Regions from separate parts of the Homo sapiens genome. Here all the other regions are linked to region 6. The links are contacts of gene promoters, found by promoter capture Hi-C in blood cells and fetal thymus (Javierre and others, 2016). All regions are on one chromosome and are shown on one strand. Each heading gives the region's core, a stretch centred on a gene start or on the middle of the fragment in contact. The rest is flanking DNA. Distances are from core to core; before and after follow the strand shown.

The links. Contacts are between HindIII fragments. The CHiCAGO score rates a contact against its expected background, and 5 or more counts as called.
Region 1: a contact is called between a fragment that was not itself captured here and the fragment with the promoter of LTO1 in region 6, in 1 of 17 cell types (monocytes). The highest score is 7.2, in monocytes.
Region 2: a fragment that was not itself captured here is called in contact with the fragment with the promoter of LTO1 in region 6 in 4 of 17 cell types (erythroblasts, megakaryocytes, M1 macrophages and 1 more); the score reaches 6.8 in erythroblasts.
Region 3: a contact is called between the fragment with the promoter of MRPL21 here and the fragment with the promoter of LTO1 in region 6, in 8 of 17 cell types (total B cells, naive B cells, M2 macrophages and 5 more). The highest score is 8.4, in total B cells.
Region 4: a fragment that was not itself captured here is called in contact with the fragment with the promoter of LTO1 in region 6 in 1 of 17 cell types (monocytes); the score reaches 5.8 in monocytes.
Region 5: a contact is called between a fragment that was not itself captured here and the fragment with the promoter of LTO1 in region 6, in 14 of 17 cell types (naive CD8 T cells, activated CD4 T cells, naive CD4 T cells and 11 more). The highest score is 11.9, in naive CD8 T cells.
Region 7: a contact is called between the fragment with the promoter of CPT1A here and the fragment with the promoter of LTO1 in region 6, in 16 of 17 cell types (monocytes, total B cells, erythroblasts and 13 more). The highest score is 14.0, in monocytes.

What each region holds. Positions count from the first base shown.
Region 1 is chr11:69,005,494-69,008,193 of GRCh38, forward strand. It overlaps MRGPRF (MAS related GPR family member F), which reads right to left. Exons shown (of 3, transcript NM_145015.5): 3 at 1-768. Among named protein-coding and RNA genes, the nearest start is that of MRGPRF-AS1, 5.5 kb to the right of the region's middle. RefSeq lists an enhancer at 2,126-2,700. The HindIII fragment of the contact is 8,290 bases long and covers 1-2,700 here.
Region 2 is chr11:68,947,148-68,949,847 of GRCh38, forward strand. No RefSeq gene overlaps it. Among named protein-coding and RNA genes, the nearest start is that of MRGPRD, 32 kb to the right of the region's middle. RefSeq lists an enhancer at 1-352. The HindIII fragment of the contact is 1,232 bases long and covers 683-1,914 here.
Region 3 is chr11:68,902,453-68,905,152 of GRCh38, forward strand. It overlaps MRPL21 (mitochondrial ribosomal protein L21), which reads right to left and starts at 1,380. Exons shown (of 7, transcript NM_181514.2): 1 at 1,271-1,380. The coding sequence starts at 1,358. It overlaps IGHMBP2 (immunoglobulin mu DNA binding protein 2), which reads left to right and starts at 1,439. Exons shown (of 15, transcript NM_002180.3): 1 at 1,439-1,586. The coding sequence starts at 1,501. RefSeq lists enhancers at 1,253-1,980, 1,412-1,531, 1,862-1,921. The HindIII fragment of the contact is 5,018 bases long and covers 1-1,835 here.
Region 4 is chr11:69,035,077-69,037,776 of GRCh38, forward strand. LOC124902701 (a long non-coding RNA gene) reads right to left here. Exons shown (of 2, transcript XR_007062753.1): 2 at 1,940-2,409. Among named protein-coding and RNA genes, the nearest start is that of TPCN2, 13 kb to the right of the region's middle. The HindIII fragment of the contact is 8,914 bases long and covers 1-2,700 here.
Region 5 is chr11:69,052,759-69,055,458 of GRCh38, forward strand. TPCN2 (two pore segment channel 2) reads left to right here. Exons shown (of 25, transcript NM_139075.4): 2 at 1,275-1,339; 3 at 1,963-2,039; 4 at 2,417-2,594. Among named protein-coding and RNA genes, the nearest start is that of TPCN2, 5.2 kb to the left of the region's middle. RefSeq lists enhancers at 303-876, 1,551-1,680. The HindIII fragment of the contact is 3,802 bases long and covers 1-2,700 here.
Region 6 is chr11:69,674,051-69,676,750 of GRCh38, forward strand. It overlaps LTO1 (LTO1 maturation factor of ABCE1), which reads right to left and starts at 1,303. Exons shown (of 5, transcript NM_153451.3): 1 at 1,140-1,303. The coding sequence starts at 1,189. RefSeq lists a silencer at 885-974 and enhancers at 1,095-1,595, 1,465-1,664. The HindIII fragment of the contact is 5,284 bases long and covers 1-2,700 here.
Region 7 is chr11:68,840,574-68,843,273 of GRCh38, forward strand. It overlaps CPT1A (carnitine palmitoyltransferase 1A), which reads right to left and starts at 1,343. Exons shown (of 19, transcript NM_001876.4): 1 at 1,202-1,343. RefSeq lists silencers at 182-461, 512-611, 872-951, 1,162-1,211, 1,232-1,591 and an enhancer at 1,737-2,262. The HindIII fragment of the contact is 25,295 bases long and covers 1-2,700 here.

The DNA of each region.
Region 1 (2,700 bases), core at 7-2,506, 670 kb before region 6:
GGGGAAGGGGGCCGGGATCTGGAAGACCCAGAAGAGGAACCAGTCGATCCCTAAGTAGATGGAGGACACCAGGAAGACGGAGACCATGGCCAGGATGACGTGGTTGAGCTTGGCAGAGCGCTGGCGCCGTCGGGCCCGGCACTCCACGTGCAGGATGAGGGCCAGGCAGGGCAGCACCATGAGCGGGCAGCAGAGCAGGAACAGGAGGATGCCCAGGAAGATGTCCATGTGCCTGCAGGCCGCGCCGGGGGCCCCGCGGCCCAGGAACACGCAGAAGTAGTTGTGCAGGCAGGTGACCAGGAGGGACAGGACCCACAGCAGGGCGCACACCACGGCCGACAGGCGCTTGGGCCGCCGGCGCCAGTACCAGGCGGGGAAGATGACCGAGGCGCAGCGCTCGGCGCTGACGGCCGGCAGGAGGCTCACGCCGGTAAGGAACATGCAGAGCCCCAGGACCCGGCACACGCTGCGGATGTAGTCGGCAAACGTGCCCAGGAAGCCCCCCGTGTTCAGGATGGAGAACACCGCCTTGCTGAAGAGGTAGCCCACATCGGCGCTGGCCAGGTGCAGGAAGTAGATGGAGAAGGGGTTCCTCTTGATGGAGAAGCCGAAAAACCAGAGGACCAGCCCGTTGCCCACCAGGCCACACAGGCAGAGGAGCAGGAAGATGTAGTTCATGACGGCCGGAGGCGGCAGCATCGCGATCTGCTCGATGGTCAGGAAGCCCCGGCTGTAGAGTTCCGGGGCCTCGCTCAGGCCAGGGCACATCTGCGCAGGTGCAGAGAGGGACACCTGTGATGCCGGCTGGCCCCCACCCACAGACCTGCATCTGGGGCCCAGCGTGGGGGAGGGGGGGGGTCCCAATTAGGGACTTGGGGCAGGGAGGGGGTCTGTAAGGCAGTGGCTGTGGAGCAGCTAACTGGCTGCAACTCTATCCTCAAACGCCCCTGACCTCACCTGATGTTAACTCTCCGTCCCAGCGTCTAGAGCTAGCAGCACACAATGGTGCCTATAGGAGTAGAGGTAGCACCAGACAGTGCCCAGGAAGGGTGCCAGGCTGCCCACCGGTCAGAGTAGACTGTCCAAAAAACGTCCAAGTCGCACAAAAAACTGCAGAGCCTTTCCCTTTTTTTTTTTTTTTTTTTTTGAGACAGAGTCTCACTCTGTCACCAGGCTGGAGCGTGCAGTGGCACGATCTCGGCTCACTGCAACCTCTGCCTCCCAGGTTCAAGCGATTCTCCTGCCTCAGCCTCCTGAGTAGCTGGGACTACGGGCACGCGGCACCATGCCCGGCTAATTTTTGTATTTTCAGTAGAGACGGGGCTTCGCCGTGTTGGCCAGGATGGTCTCGAACTCCTGACCTCAAGTGATCCACCTGCCTCCCAAAGTGCTGGGATTATAGACGTGAGTCACTGCGCCTGGCTGAGCCTTTCCATTTTTAAGAAGAGCAAAGAGACATGACTCCTAAACACAGTGTTAGAATCCTGGATTATACGCTGGATCTCAACAACTGCTGCAGAGGATATCGTTGGGACCACTGGGGAAATGTGAGTATGGACGATGCAGAGATAATGGCATTGCATCGGTGTTGCAGCTTTTGAATGTGACAATGTACTGTGGCTACGCACATTTTCACTATGTGGCTACGGGAACGTCCTTGTTCTTAGAAGATACAGGCTATTTGGGCATCAAGGGCTTGGTGTCTGCAATTTACTTTTGTTTGTTTGTTTGTTTTTGAGACAGAGTCTTGCTTTGTCAGGCTAGAGTGCAGTGGCCCGATCTTGGCTCACTACAGCCTCCGCCTCCCAGGTTCAAGCAATTCTCCTGCCTCAGGCTCCCGAGTAGCTGGGACTACAGGCACGCACCGCCATGCCTGACTAATTTTTGTATTTTTAGTAGAGATGGGGTTTCACCATGTTGGCCGGACTGGTCTCGATCTCTTGACCTCAGGTGATCCGCCCATCTTGGCCTCCCAAAGTGCTGGGATTAGAGGCGTGAGCCACCGCACCCAGCCTTGCAATTTACTTTCAAATCATTCTGGGAAAAAAAGCCTATCTGTCAAGAGATAGAGAGAAAGCACTTGTGGTGAAGGGTTAACGATGACTGAGCTGAGGTGAGGTATTGGCGGGCATTGTACTATTCTTGCAAAATCTTGCAATGTTTCAACAAACACGAAACTATTTGAAGAAATAAAATCACTTGTAAGTTACATTTAAAAAAAAACAACGAGTGGATCTCGGCCTTCCCCGGAGCTGGACCCTGTCCTCTAGTGGGATGGGAGGTGGCTTCCTGATGAGCCAGGGTTGCCCCTGGGGTTTCCAGATTGTGGGAAAGTCCAGGGGGTCCCTGGGGTGGAGGAGAGGCAGCAGCTATTTATCAAGCTGCAGGGAAGCATTTCAATACTTTAACTGTTGGTGTGGCTGTAAGAGTGCATCCCAGCTGAGTATCGGTCCTGCCCTCAGGGTCTAGGCTTGTGTATAAATGCATGCAGGTGGGCCAGGTGCAAGGAACAGGTGAGAGGGAGCACAGTGGCAAATCTGAGAGCCCCTCTCTTGAGCGAAGCGGGCAGCCTGCTGTGCTCCAGCTGGTGGGGGCCAGGGATTGGGTGCACTGGAGTGGCTGATCGTCCTCCCCCGCTCCCTGGAGAAGCCTGAACTCTAGACTGGAATGTGGAACACCCGATCTTTAAATGTTAACATT
Region 2 (2,700 bases), core at 49-2,548, 730 kb before region 6:
TCCCCAAACCTGCGAATGTGACCTTATCTGGGAAAAGAGTCTTCGCAGATGTAATTAAGTAAAGGTTCTTGAGAGGAGATCATCCCGGGTTACCTGGATGGTCCCTAAATCCAATGACAGGTGTCCGTCTAAGAGACATGTGAGAAGAGAAGGAGGCTGCCTGCAAACACAGGCAGAGGCTGGCGTGGTGCAGCCACAGGCCAAGGAACGTGGAGCCCCCAGAAGCTGGAAGTGGCAGGACAGGGCCGCCCCTCGAGATTTTATCTTGAAGAGAGAGAATCAGTTTCTGGGTTTGTTGTTGTTGCTGTTTTTTGAGATGGAGTTTTGCTCTTGTTGCCCAGGCTGGAGTGCAGTGTCGCAATCTCAGCTCACTGCAACCTCCGCCTCCTGGGTTCAAGCGATTCTCCTGCCTCAGCCTCCCGAGTAGCTGGAATTACACCTGGAATGACAGGTGCCCGCCACCACACCCAGCTAATGTTTTTATACTTTTAGTAGAGACAGGTTTTTGCCATGTGGCCAGGCTAATTTCGAACTCCTGACCTCAAGTGATCCACCCGCCTCGGCCTCCCAAACTGCTAGGATTACAGGCGTGAGCCACCGCACCAGGCCGTCGCTGCTTTTGAGTCAGGGTCTCAGTGTGTGACCCAGGCTGGAGTGCACTGGTGCGATTATAGCTCACTGAAGCTTCAGCCTCCAGGGTTCAAGTGATCCACCTGCCTCAGCCTTCCAAAGGGCTGGGATTACAGGCGTGCGCCACTGCCTCTGGCCTTCTTACATCTTTTTTCCTGTTTTCTATCTCTCCATCTCTTCCTTTTTTAAACAATGAGATGTTCCTCAGCCTTATTTTCCAACCATTTTATTTTTGTTTAGGTTTTAAAAATTCACACCATTTTCCTTTCAGCATCGAAGAGCCCTTCCCTCATGTCCCTTTTTGCAGTGCTCTCCCTGTGGGGCTGCGTCTTCTCTTTTCTGTCTGTGGGTGTGGTTTTGTATTGTTTGCTGCTTTCTTTTTCCTGCAGTGTTTCGATTACAAATGGCTTCCGTCTGCCTTTCGCATCGTGGCTTTCTGCAGATTCTGGTAGTTGTCCCCTCCTATCAGCCAGGGACTGACTCTCCAAGACCGTGCGGAGGGCTCGCTGACTGTGGGCTTCACTGAGGCATCAGCTGCCCGGCCGTTGAGCCAGGGACCAGAAGTCTTTCCCCCTGGATGTGCCAGGTTGCAATCACAGTCTCTGTTCATACACCTGCTTACTCACCCTCCACTCAGTACGGGGTTCCCCCGCCCAGCTATGCCTTGGGACCCTCAGGCAGACTCATTCTGTTTTACCCACTGCAGAGCCTAGTCGGGTATTTGGTCTTTTCTCAGAGTAGAGGAGGAGGCTTCTCTGAGTAGCAGATGGGATTAGAAGATCTGATTGCTGCTGCTTTCATAAAAATTGTAAAATATCTATAACATGAAATTTAACATTTTAACCATTGTGTAAGCAAGTGTACAACTCAGCGGCATCCCTTACATTCCCAGCATTGTGCAACCATCACCACCATCTGTCTCCAGAACTTTCTCATCTTCCCACATGGAAACTCCATCCCCATCAAATACCAACCCCCCAGCCCCTGGAATCTCTGTTCATTTTCTGTCTCCATGACTGATTGCTTCTTTTAAAGACTTCCATCCACCCGCCTTATTTTAGCTCCTTCCCACCCCACTTCTTGGGCTCCCAAGGCCCCCAGTTCCTGAGCCTTTAGGTGATTCTGTGGCATCAATTTATTTAGTGGCCTTATGTAGATGTGTGTGTTCAATCCGCTAACTTTACATGGATGTTTCTCTAGATCAGGGGGTCCCAGGGGTACGGGTCCATGACCTGTTAGGAACTGGGCCTCACAGCAGGAGGTGAGTGGTGGGTGCACCCGTGAAGCTTCATCTGTATTTACAGCCACTCCTCACTGCTCGCGTCACCGCCCGAGCTCCGCCTCCCGTCAGATCAGCGGCGGCGTTAGATTCTCATAGGAGCGCGAACCCTATTGTGAACTGCGCATGCGAGGGATCCAGGCTGCGTGCTCCTTTATGAGACTCTGATGCCTGATGATCTGTCACTGTCTCCCATCACCCTAAGATGGGACTGTCTAGTTGCAGGGAAAGAAGCTCAGGGCTCCCACTGATTCTACATTATGGTGAATTGTAGAATTATTTTATTATATATTACAATGTCAATAATAGAAATAAAGTGTGCAATAAATGTCATGCGCTTGGGTCATCCTGAAATCATTCCCCCTGCCGCCCCACGGCCTGGCCCATGGAGAAATTATCTTCCACGAAACCGGTCTCTGGTGCCAAAAAGGCTGGAGACTGTTGCTCTATAATATTTAAGTTATCTTTTGCAGAGACTTTGTTTTTTGAGACAGGGTCTTGCTCTGTTGGCCAGGCTGGAGTGCAGTGGCACAATCACGGTTCATTGTAGCCTCGACCTCCTGGGCTCCAGAGATCCTCCCACCTCAGCTTCCTGAGTAGCTGGGACTACAGACACATGCCACCATGCCCAGATAATTTTTTAAAAAAATTTTTAGTAGAGATAGGGTCTTTGTTGCCCAGACTGGTCTGCTGGGCTAAGTGATTCTCTCACCTCAGCCTCCCAAAGTGTTGGGGTTACAGGCGTGAGTCACCACACCTGGCCCTTTGCAGATACTTTGTAAACAACCAGT
Region 3 (2,700 bases), core at 130-2,629, 770 kb before region 6:
TCTGGCCCAACTCTGTGATTATTATTAATTTCTTAATAGACTTTATTTTTTAGCACAGTTTTAGTTTCACACCAAAATTGAGTGGAAGGTACAGAGAGTTCCCATATGTCCCCTGTCCATGTGCCCACAGCTTCCTATCAACATCCCTCACCAGAGTGGTACAATCTTTACAATTGATGAACCTACATTGACACATCATTGTTATCCAAAGTCCATAGTCTACATTAGGGGTTCACCCTTGGTAGTGTACATTCTATGGATTTGGACAAACTTATAATGACATGTATCTACCATTATATCATACAGAATAGTTTCACTGCCCTAAAAATCCTCTGAGCTCCACCTATTTATCCTTTTCTCCCCCAATCCTCTTACCCCCCATGTAACTTTTTACTGTCTCCTTAGATTTGCCTTTTCCAGAATGTCATAGTGGGAAACATACAAGATGTCCCCTTTTCAGGTTGGCTTCTTTTACTTAGTAACATGTATGTAAGTTTCCTCCATGTCTCTTCATGACTCATTTCTTTTTATTGCTGCATAATATTCTACTGTATGGATGTCCTACAGTTTATGTAACCATTCATCTCCTGAAGGACATCTGGGTTGCTTCCAAGTTTTGGGAATTATGGTACTATTCTTTTAATATCGTCCAATATAGAGTTAGATCCAGTTTTCCATTTTTGGGGGTCATGGTGAGACATGAAACCCAGGTTTAAAACATACATAAACACTCATGCACACAAATACACACTCCAACCATTTTCAAGCAGAGATTTATAGAGTTTTTAACGGACATAACCTTTTTGGAGCCTCGTATCAGCCCAGCGCCTTAAATACGGCTGTTTCTTTTGCAGAATGAGTTCAGATTAGGCGAGGATATCCATCACCATTTTTCAGACCAGCTCGCAGCCTGGGGGCAGTGGTTCAAGCACAGGCTTTGGAGCCGAAATGACTGCGCCTGAAGTACTCTTCTTCCACTTCCCCGCTGTGTGACCCTGGGCACGTTACCTAGCTCCTCTGAGCCTCACTCTTCTCCCCCATAACATAGGGCCTATACCAAAGTTCAAGGGCTATTGTCAGTATTCAGGCTACTAACTGAAGGAATCAAAATCTGAACCTGGGTTCCCCCGACTCCAAAACCCGTGCTATATTCACCACAAATGCGATCAACACACAAGGCACCAGGTCGGACCCAGGCACATACGTGGCGAGACCGCAGGGAGCAGCGCTCGCTCTGCGTCCTCCCTTCCTCCCATATCCCAGGTCTCACCTGCTCCGGGCCCCGAAGGTCTCAGGATGCTGTGGCTGCACGCGGACGCCAGCCGCCCTAAGGTGACCGTCAGGGAAGATGCTGCCATGGCCGCAGCCTCGGCCGGAAACGGAAACGACGCGAACCGCGTGCGTAACGCACGGGCCCGGCGGGGAACACCGGTCCGCTGTAACACCGGCCCGGCGCAGAAGCGGGACGTCGGCTTCTAGGGGCCCAGGCCGGCGGCGGCGATGGCCTCGGCAGCTGTGGAGAGCTTCGTGACCAAGCAACTGGACCTGCTGGAGCTTGAGAGAGACGCGGAGGTGGAGGAGCGCAGGTACGGGAGGCCGCCGGCGCCGCTCCCTCGCGGTCGGTCCCGCCGTGTCCCGGGCAGAGTCTCCGAGGGGCTCGGCCTCATAGTCTGGGGCGGGAATTTCGTCTCCGACCCTTCGAGTCAGGGGCAGGGATCGTCCGTCCCCTGCTTGGCCACCTCCCGAGTTGTCAGTCTCATCACTTCCTGGGCAGCGCGTTCCGTTTGGGGACCCTTAAGAAGCACTTTGATTTCCCGACCCGAGACCCCCCACTAAGCTTACACTCCTGGGCCCTGGCCCCGACCCCAGTTCCACCCGCAGCGAGTTAGCAGCCCTTTCCCTTATTCATTCAGTAAACATGGTTTGCGCCCATTCTCAGTCAGGCCCCGGCAGCATGAGTCAGGTGCACTGGCTGCCCCCGATCCGGCCAGCGGCGGGCTGGGCATAAGCAGAGAGTCCCTTCCCCTCCAGTGCGTCCAGGGCCGGCTGCGTGCGTGTCGCGGGGAAAGAGCCTGGAGGAGGAAGGCCCTTCCCTGGGGAGGGTCATGGTGGCTTCAAGGAGGGAGTGGTGCCTGAAGGAAAATTGGAGTTAAGCTGGTGGGTGCGGAGTAGGGTGGGGAGCCGTCCTGAGAGGTGTGGGGAGCCATGTGAGAGCCGGGCTTGTTTCCGAATGGGACTATTTACTTGTCCAAAACAATCAGAGCTAACACTTACGTACTTTCCATGCGTTAATTCTTTTACACCTCATCCCATGCCAACCCTACAGTGTAAGTTTCTTTTTTTTCTTTTTCTTTTTTTTTTTTTTAGACAGAGTCTCTCTCTGTCGCCCAGGCTGGAGTGCAGTGGCACGATCTCGGCTTACTGCAGCTTCCATCTCCCGGGTTCAAGCGATTCTCCTGCCTCAGCCTCCTGAGTGGCTGGGACTACAGGCGCGCCACCACGTCCTGCTAATTTTTTGTATTTTTAGTAGAGACAGGGTTTCACCATGTTGGCCAGGATGGTCTCGATCTCCTGACCTCGTGGTCTGCCCGCCTTGGCCTCCCAAAGTGTTGGGATTACAGGCGTGAGCCACCGTGCCCGGCCGCAGTGTAGGTTTCTGTTACTGTCATTTTCCGTCTAAGGAGATGGAGACAGAGAGGG
Region 4 (2,700 bases), core at 79-2,578, 640 kb before region 6:
AAGAAAATAAAGAAAGAAAGAAAGAAACAGAAAAGAAGACGAGTGAAAGTCCTAACCGCCTTTGTCTCTAAAAAACTGTTTTTAGAGACAGAGTCTCACCCTGCCGCGCGGCTGGAGCTGCCATGCCATCACAGCTCACCTCAGCCTCAAACCTCGGGTGCTCCTTGTGTGTGGTTGTCGGGGGAGGGTCTGAGCTCGGCACTGCCTCCTTGCAGGGGTGCATGGTGCCACCTGCAGCACGTTTGCACTCCCCGACCCAGGACAGACTGGTGGTGCCCCCTTGCCGGCCCCTGCGCCCCTCCACGCAGGGAGATCTGTGCCCTAGGAACAGCTCCCAGCCATGGCCAGGGACCACCGGGAGTGGGGAGAACAGCCTGCTTTCCCACCTCCCCGATACCTCTGAGGCTTGTTCTATGTGGTCTCCCAGAGGTCTCCACGGGGCCTAGCCCCGCTGCCACTGCTGAAAACTTGCCTTATTTGGCTTCTCCCCTCCCCTGCGCCCCTTCCCTCTTTCCCTCCCACCCTTCCCAGGCTCTCCACCAAAACACACTACTTGTGCTCAAATCCTTGTCTCAGCGGGAGCGTCCAGGGCCCTGGCCTAAGAGCTGGCAAGACCCCAGCTTCCACCCCGCTGGCTGTCCTCCCAGCTAGGCCTGACTGGCCCCTGCTTCTCCTGGGGCTTCACCCCCAGTGCCCCTCCCAGCCTTTTCCCCTCTCTGTACCCCCAACCCCCTCTCCCGGGGCTTCACCCCAGGGGCCCCTCCCAGCCTTCTCCCCTCTCTGCACCCCCGACCCCTCTCCCAGGGCTTCATCCCAGGGGCCCCTCCCAGACTTCTCCCCTCTCTGTACCCCCAACCCCACAGGCCTCTGGGCTCGGACTTCAGCCCTCACTTTCCCGACGCCACCCTAGTGACTCTCGTCCCCCACCGGCCCCTTCCTTGGCTGCCACCACAAGCCATTTGGTTCACAACATAGCAAATGGCCTGGGTCTCCCCGAATTCCTGTTGCTTGTGTCATATGCAAGAGAACTCAAAATAGCACGTGCAGCCTGCCCTGGCCTGGGAAGTATCTGGTTTTCCCAGGGGTTGGTCCCCAGGGCAGGACAAGGGGGTTTGCTCACCAACACCCCATTTTTGGGCCCTGTGCCCAGCTCACACGCTCTCCTTCCCCTCCAGGGCCAGGCTTGGCTTTCACTGTGCCCCTCGCTCACTGTGTGACCTCAGACAACGCACACAGCCTCTCTGAGTCTTCATTTCCCAGCGTGCAACACAGGGATAATTCCTGGGCTGCTCTGGGCAGTAGTTTCAAGGTTGAAGTGTGACAAGGGATGGGAGAATAGCTCATGAGTTTTTTTTGTTTTTTTTGTTTTTTTTTTTTGAGACAAGTTCTCTCTCTGTCACCCAGGCTGGAGTGCAGTGATGGGATCATAGCTCGCTGCAGCCTCGACCTCCCCGGCCAAAGCGATCCTCCCACTTCAGCCTCCCGAGTAGCTGGGACTACAGGCATGTGTCATCACACCCAGCTAATTTTTAAAATTTTTTATAGCGATGGGGTCTCCCTATGTTGCCCAGGCTGGGTTTGAACTCCTGGGCCCAAGTGCTCCTCCTGCCTTGGCCTCCCAAGGGATTGGAGAATACCTGGTGATTTTAAAACAGCATTTTTTTTTTTCTCCCAGAGAATGGGCATGAAGGGAAGGGGGTGGGAGGGCAGAAACCTGGCCTGGGGCCCTACCGCATGTCCCTTCTGTCTGCAAACCTGGGCCCTCACCATCATTATCCCCATTCTACAGATACAGAAACCGAGGCTCAGTGAGATCCTGGGGTTGCCAGAGCTCATGGGGCTGGCGGTGGGTGGGTCAGGGCACAGGCTTTGCTCACATGACCATGAGGCTGACGGTTTTTGCTTTCTTCCACGTGATCTTAGCAATCATCAGAGACTGTTACAATGAGCACGTTTGGTGTTATTCATTAGTGCCTAGGACAGTTCATGATATGTAGTAGGTGCTCAGTAGATGCGTGGGTGAATGAATGAATGAATGAATGAATAAAACCACAGAGCTCCCCTTAGAAAGACCGATACGGATACATGACCCCTGTGGATGCAGCTAAACAGAGGAAACCCAGCTGCACGTGGGCAGTCGGCCTGACGCACCCGGAGCCGGGGAAGTAAATATGGCCAAGAAGCACCTGGAGCAGGTCCCGGGTGCTCAACCGCAGACGGCCAGTCTCCAGGCTGCGGGGACGCTCGGGTCCTTCTTGGGAGGTTCCTGCAGGGGAGCGGAGCTCCTGCCTCCCCAGGCATTCTCCGTCTTGGGAGACATTGATTTCAGTGCAGTGCTGGTGCCTCCAACTCATTGCTGGACCTCACAGAAGCCCCGGCAGCCTCCCCGGAAGACATCATTTCTTCCTCCTATAAAATAAAGGGGGAGAGATGATGGGCACTTTGGCCAAAGTAACACAACTGGGGCAGTTTTTGGAAACCCAGGGAGGTATTTCTGATATTCAAACCAAGTTAGGTGCAACCTCTGAGTGCCTTGGGAGAAAAAGCTCCCAGTCGATGGCACCAGCCCTCGGCCTTGGCAGGACATAAGGGACCCTCAGGCTGAGCCAACATCACTGTCCCCACCAAGAATAAGTCTTTCTCCACTGCTGGTTCCAAAAGACATGCGTGACGGGCAACAAAAGCCACATTGGAGAGTGC
Region 5 (2,700 bases), core at 119-2,618, 620 kb before region 6:
TGGAGCTCTGCCTGGGGACCAGCACCTCCTGAGGCCTCTGCTGCTGCCTCCCATGTCACCACATTGTCTTGGTGCAGCTGTGGGCCCCAAGGGGCCAGGTGTGAAAGCCGAGTCTCAACTGAAAAAGCAGCTGCTTCACCCTCTCCCCGTGCTGGGAAGTGTCAGCCTCTCCGGGCTCCTCAGTTGCTTCGGGTTGAGTTTTCCTTCCCTGTTGGCCTGCTGGGGAGCAGCTCTGCAGCGAGGCCAGAGGTGGCCCGTGCCTACGATGCGGGTGGGTGGCCCAGGCTCCCTGCAGTGGCTCAGTGGCTGACCAGGTGCGCCCGCTGGCTGCTCTGTGGCAGGTGAGGGGCTTGTGAGCAGGCCAGGGTGCTGGGTCCTGGCTTCTGTGCCGCCTGACTTTTCCTGAAGGCCCCTCCTAGTCAGGAGCCACTGCCGCTTTTGCCCAGGCCTGCCGGGAGGCTCCACCCTGCTTGTGCTGTTGGTAAAGGCGGGCGGCCACCCTTCACCACAGAAGGCACCGGCAGAGGCTGGGGGACTCGGGCGTTCCTGCAGCTCTGACCCTGGGAGTGATTTGGGTGGGCTTGCCTGGGCCCATGGACCGGGACAGTGAGGGAATGGGACCTTGGTAGCACTCATGAAGCCTCATGGCAGTGCCTTTGGGTTCTAGATGCCAGTTCTCCCTGTCACTGTTGAATCCGAGGTCTGGTTTGATGGGGGTGGGTGGGACACTGGGTACAGTGTCCTGGCTCATGAAGACTGTGCAGGAGCCAGGTAGGGCCGAGCGGAAGAGGGGTGACAGCAGCCCCATGTACCGAGCATGCCTGGGGAGCGTGGCAGGGGGCTCTTGTGCTCCTGCGTTGCACCTCACAGTACCCTCTGGGGAGCCGATTGGGTGGCTGTAAATAGCCCCACTTGACAGAGGAGGAGCCAGCCACAGCCTTCCTGCCAGCACGTGGAGGAGCCGGGCTCTGAACCCCGACGCTGGTGCCAGGGCCCTGCAGGATGTGCCGCTTCCCACAGGCTTGCTAGTTGTGTGCGCTGCATGCGGAGGTGCCGTGCCCTGGGCCTGGCCTGTGCATTTGATGCCGAGGCACTTACCTGGTTTGGTCCCTGCCCTGGGCAGGTACATGCAGCCCCACTGCCGGGTGGAGTCATCTCTTTACAAACGGCCTTGGGAAGAACCACAGCCGGCATCTTTCCTTGATCACGGGTATCCTGGAGGGTGAGGCCATGTCATCCTGCTCGGTCACCTGATGTGTCCCCTCTGCCTGCAGGTGCCGCGGCCAGGTGGGACCTCTGCATTGATCAGGCTGTGGTCTTCATCGAAGATGCTATTCAGGTCGGTGGCACCTGCTCCCTGTGGCCGGGCCTGGGGGGTGGCCGCCCTCCGATTGGCTCGCCCCTCCAGGGGCGACTGACTGGGTCCAAGGCCTCCATTGCTGGACTGTAGGTTAAGAGAACTGAGGGTGGAGCCTCTGGGCACGGCTCTTCGTCAGTCCCCGGAGGACTTGTCTTCTGCATCCTGGACGCATTTGCTGCTTTGATGCACCGTGTTCTGAGGCCTGTTGTGGACCACCCCATTCTAGGTCCCGGGTGGGTGGGGGCATCCTGGAGGATGACACAGCTGCACGGGGCGTGGGAGGGTCAGCCTTGCACAGAGAAGAGAGAGCCTCGCAGGCAGACACGGGCACAGCTGTGCTCTCAGCAAGTGTTCCCTGAGTGTTTGCTCACGCACCCACCCACCCCGGGTGTGTGGCCTGTGAGGTCTTGTGTGTTGGGCAAACCTCGTGGTTTGTGATGGTGTGGGCCTGATGGGTCAGGGCTGGCCATGTCCACACGCTGAAGCGTCCCCTGTGATCCACAGCCTGAGACTTGGGCCTGTCTCGTGTGTGGTGTGGGGCTCGGGTCACGGCCCACCCTGCATGCACCCATGTCATGCCTCATGTGACTTTTCGCTTGTAGTACCGCTCCATCAACCACCGGGTGGATGCCAGCTCGATGTGGCTTTACCGACGGTATTACTCGAACGTATGCCAACGGTGAGAACGCACCCATGTGGAACTCAGGGTTCCTGCCGGCTTGCGTGGCAGGGGAGGCTGGCCCCCACCTGGGGATCACCTGGTCTCAGGGTCCAGGCAGGCTCCCCACTACATAGATAGGGCGGTTACCATCATCCTCTCTGGAAAGGAGACGGCCTGTGATGGCAGGCTCCTTCTACAACAAGGGTTCCTTTCTGGAATGCTGTGGTCAGCCCTCGGCAATGGAGCTTTGAGCAGATTCGTGATCTCCCCAGTCACGAGTGTCCACGCTCAGGCAGCGCCAACTCCCGTGCTTCGGACTGGGGAAGCTCCTGACCAGCCTCTGGGCCCTGAGGGCTGCTGGCTCCTGTGTTTTCATGTTTCTGTCCCCTTTCCAGGACTTTGAGCTTCACCATCTTCTTGATCCTGTTTTTGGCTTTTATCGAGACCCCATCCTCACTCACCAGCACGGCGGACGTGCGCTACCGCGCTGCTCCCTGGGAGCCGCCCTGCGGCCTGACCGAGAGTGTCGAGGTGCTCTGCCTGCTGGTCTTTGCGGCCGACCTCTCTGTGAAGGTGAGGCGGGCGCCAGGCCCTCTACGTGCTGCCCCGGCCTCCCAGCGCCTGGCCGCTGCTCTCCTGGTTTATTGCTGATTCTCTGGAGTGAGCTGCCTTTTCCCCA
Region 6 (2,700 bases), core at 53-2,552:
CACCATGTTAGCTAGGATGGTCTGGATCTCCTGACCTCGTGATCCGCCCGCCTCGGCCTCCCAAAGTGCTGGGATTACAGGCGTCAGCCACCGCATCTGGCCCGGAATCTACTTTTCAAAGTCTCCTAGATAAGTCTGGTTTGCAGCCAGAGTTAGGGGGCCAAAGTTCTGTGAGTGTTCAAGTAGCACTAGCCCAAGTCAACCGCTTCCAAAAAACTGCAACATACACAGGGTTTGACATCACATGGGTAGGGCAACAGAGAGAAATGGCATCAGATCACCACAAAATGTTCTCCGACTGGTACCCGGAGTAGCACTGACCCTGAGGCCCAACAGTGGAACTGCCACTATCTTAACCTGCAGTCACCAAACATGCAAGGAGTGGGCTGCAGCGCCCCATGAAGCAGGGTGCATAGCTCCCCACTTAATAGTTGTGTGACCCTGGAAAGTGACTGTGCCTCCTAGTCTGTAAATTCCGAAGAATAATAGGATCCACTTACTAAGTAGGGCTGAAGTAGATAACCAGGGTGGAACGTTTAGCTCAGTGTCTGACTCACAGCGCGAGCTAAATAAACGTCAGCGCCTGACTGCTAAATGTTCGGCCGCTTTCTTAACTAACATCTATGGACGCGTCCTCTGGGCCGGGCACTGGAAGTCAGCCAGGAGGCAACTCACAGCTCCCCCACTGTCGCAGCACGAGGGGCTCCCCAGGGGCTCTGGAGGGAAAAGGGGTGTGGTCGGGTACATCTATCAGCACATCCATGAATACTGCCGTATGTCCTATGATTAAGGAACCAGAAAAAAAGGCAGCTCCCAGATGGCAAAGGTCTGTCCTCCCAGAGGACGAGGCGGCCTCGGAGGAGGGGAACCACCAGGCTGAGCAGATGTTTGGGGCAGCCCTGACAGGGAAGGCGGGTCTGGAAGAGCAGCTGGGCACGTGCCCCGCCGGAGCGGGCCAGGAGAAGAGGACCAGAGCATCAGGCCCACACTTGTCCCTGCGTCCACGGCCACCAGGCGCTCCCCAATGCGCACGCCCAAGGGACGCCAGGCTCCAGCAGCCGCCCTGGGCCGCAGCCGGCGGCGAAGCCGCTGGGAGACGACCAGACAGGGCGGGGTGCGGGCCCGGCCTCACCACCCACCTCTCATCCGCCATCACGATGGCATCGAATATGTCCTGACTGCCAGCCATAGCGGCAAGCAGCCCGCCCTTGGCCCCCGGGTTTCTGCAGCCCCGCGGTGCCGTAGCAGACCCGGCAGCTTCAGGCACAAATGCTCCGCTTGGGAGGAGACGAGACCCACTTCCGGAAGCGGCGGCGCGGGGCAGGCCGGGTAAGAACGGCACGCGGGAGGGCCCAAAGCAGCCTGTACATGGCGCATGCGCGGCTGCAGCGGTGGGCGGGGCCGGCCTCGACTGAAGCCCCGCCCTGGGGTCCTTTCGCCCTGCCCAGCTCCAGCAAAGGGCCTGTCTGTCCGCGCTGGGAGCGTCCATTGGCCGCGCGCGTGGAGAGCCGACCTGTATTTTACCACTGCAGATAGAACCGAATTTCCCAAAGTGGCTCCGAAAGAACCAAGGAAGAAATGGGAAGTCATCAGCTGGCGCGGTGGCTCACGCCTGTCATCCCAGCACTTTGGGAGGCCGAGGCGCGCGGATCACCTGAGTTCGGGAGTTCGAGACCAGCCTGGCCAACATGGTGAAACCTCGTCTTTACTGAAAATACAAAAATTAGCCGGGCATGGTGGCAGGCGCCTGTAATCCCAGCTACTCGGGAGGCTGAGGCAGGAGAATCACTGGAAGCTGGGAGGCGGAGGTTGCAGTGAGCCGAGATCGCACCACTGCACTCCAGACTGGCGACAGAGCCAGACTCCGTCAAAAAAAAAAAAAAAAAGGGAAAAGAAATGGGAAGTCATCAAAGAACCGACGCCTCAGGAGGCTCCAGGCCAGGAGGCTCTGCATGTGGGATTTTGGGCAGAAATTTGTCGGTTTTAGTTCTCATATTTGTCATTTCCATGAGATGTGCTTTCTGAACACGATTTTTAAAAAGGGATTTCAAAGTCTAAGCGACAACGGAACTCAGATGAGAAACACCAGAAGCATTCCTAATAAAGTCAGTAGTAAAACCTCACGTGACCACTGAACATCTTTCTACCAGCCCTGGCCAATGCAGTAAAACATGAAGCAAGAAGTGGAAATACCAAAAAAAAAAAAAAAAAAAAAAAAAGGCAGAAATACTACTATTTGCAGATATGATGGCCCACGTGGAAAACCCAAATAGTCACCTAAGACGTTCTCAGAATCCATAATCGCAGCAAGTAGCTATGTGTATGATGAATAGGGAAAAAAACACTTTCTGTTATTCCAACAATAATTGGTAGTAACCTGAGCAGGGGTGGTGATGGGAAAATCGCCTTATGATAGTCATAATACATTTCTTAGAAATAAGAATTTCTAACAATTTGAGCAGGACCCATATAAGGAAAACTACAGCTCTACCATGATTGAGGATTGGGGAACTGAACAAGTGCAGTACCAAAGAAAATTCCATGAGATCTGGTAAAATGTGTCAAAATCCTAAACTTTTTCATCCGTATGAATAAACTAATAAAAATAACTAAGATGTTTTAGAAAAAAATGATTTTCATATCAGATATGAAAAGATAAAGTGTCAATATAAATATTGTGGTATGTTGGTTCAAGAAGTG
Region 7 (2,700 bases), core at 93-2,592, 830 kb before region 6:
GAGTTGGGAATATTAACTTTGTTATGTATTTAACCTGGTAGGTAGTTGGGATTTTTAACTCTCTGAGTTGTTTTCTTTTTTTAAAGTAAGATCGGCCCTCATCTTTGAGTTCTGCGGCTTTAACGAAAGCCAAGGGCGGATTTACATTATAAAGACGCTGACCCATGGCCTCTCCTGACAAACCGAAAGAAGCCGGCTGTTGGCTGGCCGCGGCGGTGGCTCCGAGAAGGGGCTGCCCCGCGTGGCCCTGACCGCACCGTCGGGCTCGCAGGCCAAGTTCGCCAGGGCACGGCCACGTGACACCCCCACCCTCCCGCGGCCCCGCCGCTCCCAGCCCGGCACGACCTTGGGCACATGCTCCGCGCCCACCCGCCCTTGACCCAGCGCTGCACGGGAGAGGCTGCGGGGCGCTCCCAAGCAGGCACTGGGCCCGGCACCCTCATCCTGCTCACGGCAGCGCTCGGACCGCGCCTGGAGTCCCTGCGCCAAGGGCGTGTCCCGACGGCTGCACCGCGAGGGCGGGCATGGGGAGGGGGACCGGGGAGACGGACGCTGGGATGGGGTCAGCGGCGCCCTGCCGAATCCCGAGGGCCGAGCACCCCTCCCTCAGCCGCACTGCACCTGCCCGTAGGTGACCAACCCACGGGCGGACCCCCAGACCCAATCCTCTCCAGAGCCAGGGTGGGATGGGCAGGGACAGGAGCCGGAGGCCCTACTGGCCCCGGGCGAAGGCATCCTGGAAAGCATCCAGAGCGTCCAGCATCCCTCCCGCGGCCACCCGCAGGCTGACCGACCCCTGGGCAGACCCTCAGACTCAATCCAGTCCAGGGCGGATTAAGGAGTGGGAGACAAGGGAGCCGGTGGCCCCGCTGGCCCCGGGCCGGAGGCGTCCAGCCAAGTCCGGAGGGCCGAGCATCCCTCCCGCGGCCGCACGGGACCCGCCTGCGGATGGACCGACCCCCGGTGGACCCTCAGACCCAATCCCCTGGGGAACATGGGGAGCCCCGGCCTCTTTCTGGGTTCAGGATCTCCACAACCCCGCCGTCCGGGGGGAATACCGGGGTTCCTCTCGGCGCCCCGGTTCCGGCGGCGTCCCCCACCCGGTCCGGTTCCCGGCAGCCCCGCGCCCCGCCCGTCCCCGGCCCCCGCAGCCCGCAGGGCCGCCCCGCCACCCTCCCCACCGCGGGCGACCGGGCCTCACCGAGTCAGCTACGGAGGTGCGGCAGCGGCAGCGGCAGCGGCGGCGGCGGCGGCGGCGGTGGAGTGAACGAGCGGCGAGCGGGAGCCGGGGAAGGAGGGCCGCGGGCGAGGCCGAGCGCACCCGACGCCGGCAGCAGCGGATTGGCTGAGGCGGGTCCGGCTGCGGCGCCTGCAGGCGGGTGACTCCCGGCGCGCGGAGGGCGGGCCCGGGGCCTCGGCGGGGCGGGGCGTCCGCGGGGCTAGGAGGGGAGGGAAACTGAGGCTCGAGCGGGTGCTCGCGTCCTCGACCTCTGCCGGAATGGGGTCTAGGACGAGATTCCTCACCCTCCGAGCCTCAGTTTCCTCATCCGTAAAACGAGCCATCTCGTGGAGGCCGTGCGCATAAAATCGCTTAGCTCCGTGCCTGGCTGATCCTCGCGACTTATCTATCGGCATTGCCCCGTGTAATGCTCCAGGCACCCCCTGATGGTATTCACCCCTGACTCTTTCATGCAGACAAGGGTCGCGGGCCAGGAAATAAGTTACCCCACATCACCGAGCTGAGAAGCAACCGATCCACAGGGAGTGGTGGGGCGCGCCTGTAATCCCAGCTACTCGGGAGGCGGGAAGTCGCTTGAAGCCAGGAGTTCGAGGCCAGCCTGGGCAACGTAGCGAGACCCCGTCTCTAAAAAAAAAAGCGCGGGGAAGTGATAGATCGGACATTGGGTCCAGATCTGATTCCACAGCCCATGCCCCAAATCAGACCTTATACCACGAGTGGCAGTCATCGCGATCCAGAGGCAGCGTGGCTCCTCCTCATCTAGCTAGGATAAAAATGCCTCACTTGGGGGGCTTTGGTGAGATTTACTAAAATAATTCTTCCAGCGTCAAGAACATAATAGGTGCTGGGAGAGGAGTAGCTGGAGGCCAGGGCAGAGCGACCGAGAGACCCTTGTGCTGGAGCTCGGGAGAGGGGCCGGGAGCGGGAACTGAACATCCACCGGTCCCAGGAGTCTAGGGCGAGCGCAGCTGCAGGGGACCCAGGGGGTTGAGGGGGAGGGAGAGGGGCCCCAAGCGTAACAGGAGGGCCAAGGGGGTCTTCCTGACCGGGAGCCACCCCTCCCCTATCTTTGCCCGCAATGCTTCCAGGCGCGAGCTGGCGGCTCTGCATACAGCAGGTGCTCCATAAATGCACCGATGTTATGAACAAAGACTCTTTTAAACCTCTTTTATGAACCCTGCTCTTTTTAAGTTCGACCACTTCTTCTAGTTATGAAAAAATCCATGTTTGCAACCATCCTTCTTTCTGTATCATTTAGTTGTTACCGCAGAAGAATTTAGAAGAGAAAATGAAAGTTCTCCTTTGATCCCGCCCCCCACCACCGCTGCAGTTAACTCTCCCTGCGGTTCCCGGGCTCGCTGTTTTAAAGGAAGGCTAGGATGCAAGCTGTCTGTAAGGCTGTTTTGTTTTCACTTGGCTTACGTCGTAGACAGGTCTCTGCTGGGGGACGGAGATGACCA